Regions from separate parts of the Homo sapiens genome. Here region 2 is linked to region 1. The links are contacts of gene promoters, found by promoter capture Hi-C in human tissues and cell types (Jung and others, 2019). All regions are on one chromosome and are shown on one strand. The core of a region is centred on a gene start or on the middle of the fragment in contact, and the rest is flanking DNA. Distances in the headings are between cores, read along the strand shown. Region 1 holds the start of ITGB4 (integrin subunit beta 4). Region 2 overlaps GRB2 (growth factor receptor bound protein 2).

The links. Contacts are between HindIII fragments. The study calls those that stand out against the background at their distance.
Region 2: a contact is called between a fragment that was not itself captured here and the fragment with the promoter of ITGB4 in region 1, in 3 of the 25 tissues and cell types used here (IMR-90 fibroblasts, dorsolateral prefrontal cortex and hippocampus).

Annotation. Positions count from the first base shown.
Region 1 is chr17:75,719,776-75,723,575 of GRCh38, reverse strand. It overlaps ITGB4 (integrin subunit beta 4), which reads right to left and starts at 2,117. Exons shown (of 40, transcript NM_000213.5): 1 at 1,964-2,117. RefSeq lists enhancers at 1-382, 1,297-1,835, 1,836-2,374 and silencers at 2,095-2,484, 2,495-2,554. The HindIII fragment of the contact is 11,256 bases long and covers 1-3,800 here.
Region 2 is chr17:75,344,449-75,348,248 of GRCh38, reverse strand. All of the region lies in intron 2 of GRB2 (growth factor receptor bound protein 2), which reads left to right. Among named protein-coding and RNA genes, the nearest start is that of SLC25A19, 57 kb to the right of the region's middle. RefSeq lists enhancers at 798-877, 888-947, 2,558-2,837, 2,212-3,203 and silencers at 1,088-1,147, 1,059-1,227. The HindIII fragment of the contact is 8,077 bases long and covers 1-3,800 here.

The sequences.
Region 1 (3,800 bases), core at 868-3,367:
CAGGTCAGACCTGTTGTGGCACAGGGACTGGGAGGCAGCCCTGAGCCAGCAGGGAAAGGGTGGGGACAGCAGGGTTCCTAGAGGGAAATGACTTCCTTGCAGCCTCGGGGTGTAGCCGCCACACCCACATGCTACACAATACAGGCTGCAGGCTCAGGCCTCCCAGGCATCATTACACAGGCAGGTACAGGCCTGGAGAGCTGAGCCCAGCTCTTCCTCCCACTGTCCCTGGCCACAGCCCCTCAGGCAGTGCTGATTCCCACACTGTGACTGCCATATGAGCCCAGGGCTTCACGGAGGAGATTGCTCAGCACAGGAGCCCGGCGGGAGATGATTTCATTCTGCCCGTTTCCCAGATGAGAGACCAGGCACAGAAGGCTGTGGAACTTCCCCATCCCGCGGACAGCACTGGGAGGGCCAGGACAGGGCCCTGCTCTGCAGGCCCTGCCTTTAACCTCCATGGCAGCCTCCACGCAGAAGCTACAAAATGGCAGTTAGAGGGTTGGCGAGGCACCCAAGAGTGTTTGGCTTCATTTGTTTAGAAAGTTTTAAAAGTAGGAGCCAATGTTAGAAACAACGAGATTTCCCATAAAAGTTAGGAATTTGTGTTTATCATTAGATGTATCACGATGGGCTGGGCCCAGCGCTCAGGACACCTACTCTCCAGGCGGCCCGGACCCCACCAGGCTGCCCCGACTTTATGTACCAGCAGGTCCCTGGAGTGTGTGACTGCCACCCTGAATGCCATCACACTGCAGCACAGGCAGTTTCCCCCCCACAGGGACACACACACACACACACACACACACACACACACAGGCCATGCCCACCCACCCACAGGCTCAGAGCTCCCCTGGCCCCCATCCCAACCCCTGGGGACCCCTCTGGGCACACCTGCTCCTGTCCACTATCCTCTCCCGCTGTCACATCTCCTCCCCTCAGGGACCCAGGCCCTTCCTCGCCCCAGAGAGGCAGCTGGCCAGAAGTCTGGGGACCCCAGGCCCTTGGCTGTTCTGTCTCCCTGAGAAATCAGGGTCGAGTAGACAGACATACCTCCCCTCCTGTCCCTCCTGCTGTCCTTCCCTCAGCCCCCAGGATGGAGACTCCAAGCCTTCACTGCCAGCTCTGTTTCGGACAGCAACAACCATGCCACCTGTGCCTGGTCCTTGTCCTCAGGGTGTGGCAAGGCCATGGGGGCAGAGGAGAAGCCCTGTCCCTGCTCCTGGGAGTCACCAGGAGCCCCAGAGCCCCAGTCCCAGCCAGAGGGCCACCCCAGAGGCTGAGCCATGGGAAAGAGGGCGGATGCTGCAGGAGGTGGCAGTGTTGGGCACAGCCCTGGGGCTGGTGGGTGAGGCCTGTAGAGCTTCCTGAAGGAAGGCGCCTGGGGCTGACTTTGGGAGGAAGGCAGGCCTGTGCTTGGCCAAGAGAAAAGGAAAATCAGGGACTCCCCAGCCCCAGATGGACTGTGGCACCGCATAGAGCAAGCCCTGCCTGGAGCCGGGATGGCGTCTGCCTCTCAGGGTGGCTTTTAAAAGTAGGAGCCAATGTTAGAAAGAACGAAATTTCACATAAAAGTCAGGAATGTTGGTTTATCATTAGATGCGCCATGATGGGCTGGGCCCAGCACTCAGGCTGGTGTCTACTCCACCTTCTTTGCAAACCCTGGAGGGGCCCAGCCCCAGAGGGCTACCAGCCACTGGCCTCTGCCCACTTCTCCCGCAGGCGCACCCAAGGCGCTCCTCTGGCCTGGAGGTCTGATGGGCACCACCCTTCTCTAGCTGCCCTGCCCCTTGGCTGCCAGCTGCCCCCGGCGCACCCCGGGGAGGCTGGGCACCTGTCCTGCGCAGCGTGGACAGAGGGACCGGGGCCTGTCAGCCTTCAGGGAGGGGAAGGGGAGACAAAAGCCACCGGCCCTGCCCGACCAGCTCCCCTGCGCGGCTGCCCAGCTGGGGCGGGCACTCACCCTCTCCCGGCCAGCCTCGGCTGCTGCTGTGCGCCCGTCCTGGACCTACCTCGGGGCGGACTCGCTCCCTCCGCGCCTGGGCTGCCGCTAGGAGATGGGGCTGCAGCGCGCGGGCGAGCAGGGACTGTCCGAGGGCGGGCGCGGGGGTTGGGGGGGTGGGGACGAGGCGGGCAGCGCTTTATGGGGCGGGCGCGCAGGTAGGAAGGAGGCGCTGGTGAGTCAGACCGGCTGCATTCCTTCGCGCGGCGCGCACCTGTCGGGGCAGGAGCTGGGTGCCGCCGCCGGAGCCGGGTCCGCCCCCCGGAAAGGGCTGCGGCTCCCGCGGCGCCCGCCCAGCGCCCCGATCGGCTAGCGGCGGGGGCCGGGGGAGGAGCCACCGCTCTCCCTCTCCCTCCGGTCCGGCCCTGGGCGCGGGGCCTCCCCACCCCTCCAGGCTCCGGGCTCCAGGCTCGGGTGCGCGGACTGCCCCGGGCTGGAGGCGGCCTCTTAGCCCCCGTCCGCACGGGAACCCTCCCTGCCCCGACTCTGGGCCGCTAGCCAACGCCGGGCTGTGCTGCTGCTGCTGCCCCGACGGTCGTCAGCCGCGTACCCCCCTCCCCGCTCTCCGTGCCAGCGCGAGGCATGGGCCCAGGGAGTGCCCCCGGCCCGGTCGGGAGGCCTGACTCCCCGTCCCAGCTCTGCTCTGCAGTTCACGGGGTCCTCTCAGCCTCCAACCCCTAACCTCACGTTGTATCCAGAGGGAGAGCCGAGGAAGGGTCGGGTCCTCGGTGCACCCTTCAACAAGCTACTTAAATCTCCTTACAGTGTGAACAGTGATACCCTGGAGAGGTCAGTGCCGACCTGGCATGGATTGGCACTCGATGCCTTGTTACAGTTGTTCTTAACAAGCTGGTTACAGAGCTGGCCCCTCCCTCCCGTCAGTCCTCTGAGAGCAGTCTCTCCATTGCCACTGCTTACCACGGGTGTTCAGGTCAGAGAAGGGCTTCATTTTTCTTTTTCTTTTTGTTTTCTCTCTCTTTTTTTTTTTAGATGGAGTCTCACTCTGTCGCCGAGGCTGGAGTGCAGTGGTGCAATCTTGGCTCACTGCAACCTCTGCCTCCCGGGTTCAAGCGCTTCTCCTGCCTGTTTCCCGAGTAGCTGGGATTACAGGTGCCCGCCACCACGCCCGGCTAATTTTTGTATTTTTAGTACATCATGTTGGCCAGGCTGGTCTCGAACTCCTGACCTCAGGTGATCCACCCGTCTTGGCCTTCCAAAGTGCTGGGATTATAGGCGTGAACCACCATGCCCAGCCAGGGCTCCATTTTTCTCTAGGCTTACTGGCCAGCAATGCCAAACAACACCAGACTGCTGGCACAGCACTGTCCAAACCATGCGGTTTCAAGCCACCGTGCTTTTTCAACAGGCTGGTCCCTTCCCATGACATTGAGCCCAGTTTATCCTTCTTGTCCTTGAAGACGTTGCACCAACCACGTGCTAGAGAGCCTTCCTTGACCTCTCCACACCCCAAGTTGGTTTATGTGTCCCCATAACCCTTGGGCCATGGCTTTTACATGGCATTTGCCACATTGGTTTGAAATGATGTTTAGGAATCTCGCCACACTGTTGGACTGTGACTCCAAGGGCAGCTACTCTCTAGCACCTAGCACCATGCCTGGTGCATAGCAGGTGCTCAATAAAAGGGTGGTTGAGTGAATGGGATGGTCACACAGCCTCCCTGAGCCTCCATGCTGTCATCTGTAAACAGATTCCTCCACTGCTACCTCTCAGAGTGATTGCAGGGGTGCTGGTTGCAAATGTGTGAGTCGCCACCTTTCCTGGTCATCTGAGAGCTGTT
Region 2 (3,800 bases), core at 342-2,841, 370 kb after region 1:
CATGGTGAGACCCTGCCTCCACAAAAAAATTTTAAAAGTAGCCAGCTGTAGTGGCTGGCATCTGTAGTCCGAGCTATTTGTGGGAAGATCTGAGACGGGAGGATCACTTGAGCCCGGGAGGCTGAGGCTGCATTGAGCTGTGATTGTGCCTCTGCACTCCAGCCTGGGCCACAGAGCAAGACCCCTGTCTCAAATTTTGAAAAAGCGGTTAACAGAACAGAATTGTTTGGCTCTTTTATAGTTTTCTTCTTCCAAGTAGTTGGTAGAATTTGGATACTTTCTGCCCCATAACAAATGTCACTTTATATAAAGGAGCATGTCCTTAATGCATTCCAAAAGACATATACAACTGATTTTAGGCTAATTTCAGTCTGAGTCCTGGTAGAGAACACCTGACACACTTAAATTGAGAGGATTTTAATAATGAGACTATTTGCAAGGTGTTGACTCCAGCTGGGGACCTCCACACTCAGCCCACTCAGGCTAAGTCTTGGTTGCGCACCAGCTCAGCTCATGGCTGGGCTGGGTATGCCCCAGCTCACCTGTGTTATGGCTTGTTCCCAGGTTCAGCAGTTCCCAAGGTCTTGTCCTGTGTCTGAGAAGAATGAGGTTACACTGGCAATTTAAGGGTGAGGAGGGTGGAGAAGAATTTTATTGAGCGGTGAACAGCTTTCAGGAGCGGAGGAGGTAGTGGTTCCCCACCCCTGAAGTCTGGTGGTTTCTCTCCCAGTGTGGCTGGGTGGGGGCTTTTATGGGCTCAGAACAGGGGCATGCATGCTGAATGGTTTGTGGGCATGCAAAGAAAGGCTAAAGCAAAGGCACCACTCAAAGATGGGCATGGCAGTGTAGAAAATCAATTCGGAAAGGGTAGGTAGATGTAAAATAGGTGAAGAGTGGGGATCAATCAGAGGAAAGCCTACCAAATGGGAAGATGGGTTCTCAGTCCGGTCCATGGATTTGACCTGTAGTGTGGCTTTCAGGCTTTCAGTTGTCTTTGGCTTAGAGGTGGGGTTTCACTGGAGACCCGCCCCTGTGAGGCATTTGTCTGCCTCCTGCCGCTATCAGTGTGGGCGAAGTTTCTCTAGAAACCACAGGGATAATGCAGTGTCCACAGCTGGTAATCAGGTTACCACCATGAGGCCTACGACAGGGAGAAGGAAGGGGGAGGAGTTGCCCAAACCTGGAGAAGGAAAGGACTTACTTTCAATTGAGAGTCCAAGACTGTCCACAGACACTCTCAGGGTGGGAGCTGGGAGAATGAATGCCCTGACCTGACCCTCCCTTCGTCTGACCTTCTGCAGGCCTCCCCATTGATTAATAGCACTGGGAGCCAGAGAGTGAGGGAGCCTGTTGATGTGGTTCTTACAGAGCCAAAAAGTCAGAGCAGGCTGGGCACAGTGGCTCATGCCTGTAATCCCAGCACTTTGAGAGGCCAAGGTGACTTGAGGTTAGGAGTTTGAGACTAGCCTGGCCAACATGATGAAACCCCGTCTCTACTAAAAAATACAAAAATTAGCCAGGTGTGGTAATCCCAGCTGCTTGGGAGGCTGAGGCAGGGGAATCATTTGAACCCGGGCGGTGGAGGTTGCAGTGAGCCAGGATTGCACCACTGCACTCCTGCCTGTGCAAAGAGTGTGACTCTGTCTCAAAAAAAAAAAAAAAAAAAAAAAGGCAAGAAAAGCAAGGTGTAACTGGATCTGGAGAGACAGATGGAGGATACCAGCATAAGATTGATACCTGTCTTTGTTTTTTGGAGACGGAGTCTCACTCTATTGCCCAGGCTGGAATGCAGTGGCGCAGTCTCGGCTCCCTGCAACTTCTGCCTCCCAGGTTCAAGCGATTCTCCTGCCTCAGCCCCCCGAGTAGCTGGGACTACAGGCGCCCGCCACCGTGCCCAGATAATTTTTTGTATTTTGTAGTAGAGACAGGGTTTTACCATGTTGGCCAGGCGGGTCTTGAACTCCTGACCTCAAGTGATCCGCCTGCCTTGGCATCCCAAAGTGCTGGGATTACAGGCATCAGCCACTGTGCCCAGCCAATATAGCAGTTTTTCTAAAGCAGTTTTCAGAAAAAAAAAAAAAAAAAATCAGTGGCCGAGAGGAAGACCACTGAGCAGCATCTCATCACCAAGTCCTTTTGATTCTACCTCCAGAAATACCTCGACTCTCTCCTCTCTACCGCACTGCCCCACCCACCTGCACCTCCTTGCAGTTCATCTCACAGTCAGCCAGAGGAGCTTTTGAAAAATGCAAACCTGAATGTCACTCTCAGCGACTTCTGATGATTGTAACATATAAGCTTGAGCTTCTTAATTTGCATACTGTGGTCTTCTGCCAGACCACCCACAGGAGAGCCTTTGATCTCCCTTCAAATGTCACTGGCTTGGGGAGGCTTTCTCAGGCAGCCCCCACCCCGAGACTAGTTTAGGTCCCTGTGTTTTCTGCTCCCTGACCCTGTCCACTAGCTTGAATCCACATTTGCAGTTTGTATTGTCATTACCTGTTGAACTCTCTGCATTCGCCTCCACCCTGGGGGTGGGGGTGGGGGTGGGGGTAGGGACTTGCCACTCTACCCCAGTTCCTCTTCCTCTGTCATGTGATTATAACAAGCCTTTCCCGATTTGGAACTAGATTAACTGCTTCAGAAGTAGAAAATGCATTTGGAACTAGCTTTTTGAGTTGGAAATTAACGGTGTCCTGGTGGGAGGACCCCAGCCTTGAGTTTTTCAGTCCTGTATCCTTATGCACACGTTGGTGAATAGTTCTGTGACCAACATTGCTTTTTCTTCTTTCAATAACATCCTCTGAGGTGGCTCTTGGGTCACAGAACGACTGAAAATCGATCAGTCCTTTCATTGACCCCTTGAATCATAGTCTTACGTGGAATTAAATAAACTCTGTTGTCGGGCGGGGTGCGGTGGTTCACGCCTGTAATCCCACAACTTTGGGAGGCTGAGGTTGGCGGATCACGAGGTCAGGAGATCGAGACCATCCTGGCTAACACGGTGAAACCCCGTCTCTACTAAAAATACAAAAAAAATTAGCCAGGCGTGGTGGCGGGCGCCTGTAGTCCCAGCTACTCAGGAGGCTGAGGCAGGAGAATGGGATGAACCCAGGAGCGGAGGTTGCAGTGAGCCGAGATTGCGCCACTGCACTCCAGCCTGGGGGACAGAGCAAGACTCCATCTCAAAAATAATAATAATAAATAAAATTTAAAAAAAAACCTCTGTTGTCATTAATTTTCAGGGTAGAGGTTTGAGCTCCTGTTTTCTGCTTTATGCTGAGGCAGTGGGAAGTGAGTGGAGACCTTAGAGGGTGGAACTGACACACAGGAGCGGGTTTGCCTGTTAGCATCACAAAACATGAGTAACAGCTGCTCCCCCAGGCGGGGGGGTTGGGAGGGGGTGTGGGGGGTTGGGGAGGCTTTGTGTTTTATTTTTTGAAGAGAGGAGTGTAGGATTTCATGTAAGATTAAAAGCCTCCTTCTGTTAGTGAAAGGATGAAAAGGACAGTTGCTAAATATGTGTCATTAAAGTAAAGAATTAGCTACAGTTGAGGCCGAGCGCGGTGGCTCAACACCTGTAAATCCTGGCACTTTGGGAGGCCGAGGCGGGCAGATCACTTGAACTCAGGAGTTCAACACCAGCCTGGCCAACTTGATGAAACCCTGTCTGTACTGAAAATATAGAAATTAGCCAGCTTGGTGGCAGGCACCTGTAATCCCAGCTACTCAGGAGGTTGAGGCAGGAGAATCGCTTGAACCCGGGAGGTGGAGGTTGCAGTGAGCTGAGATCACGCCAT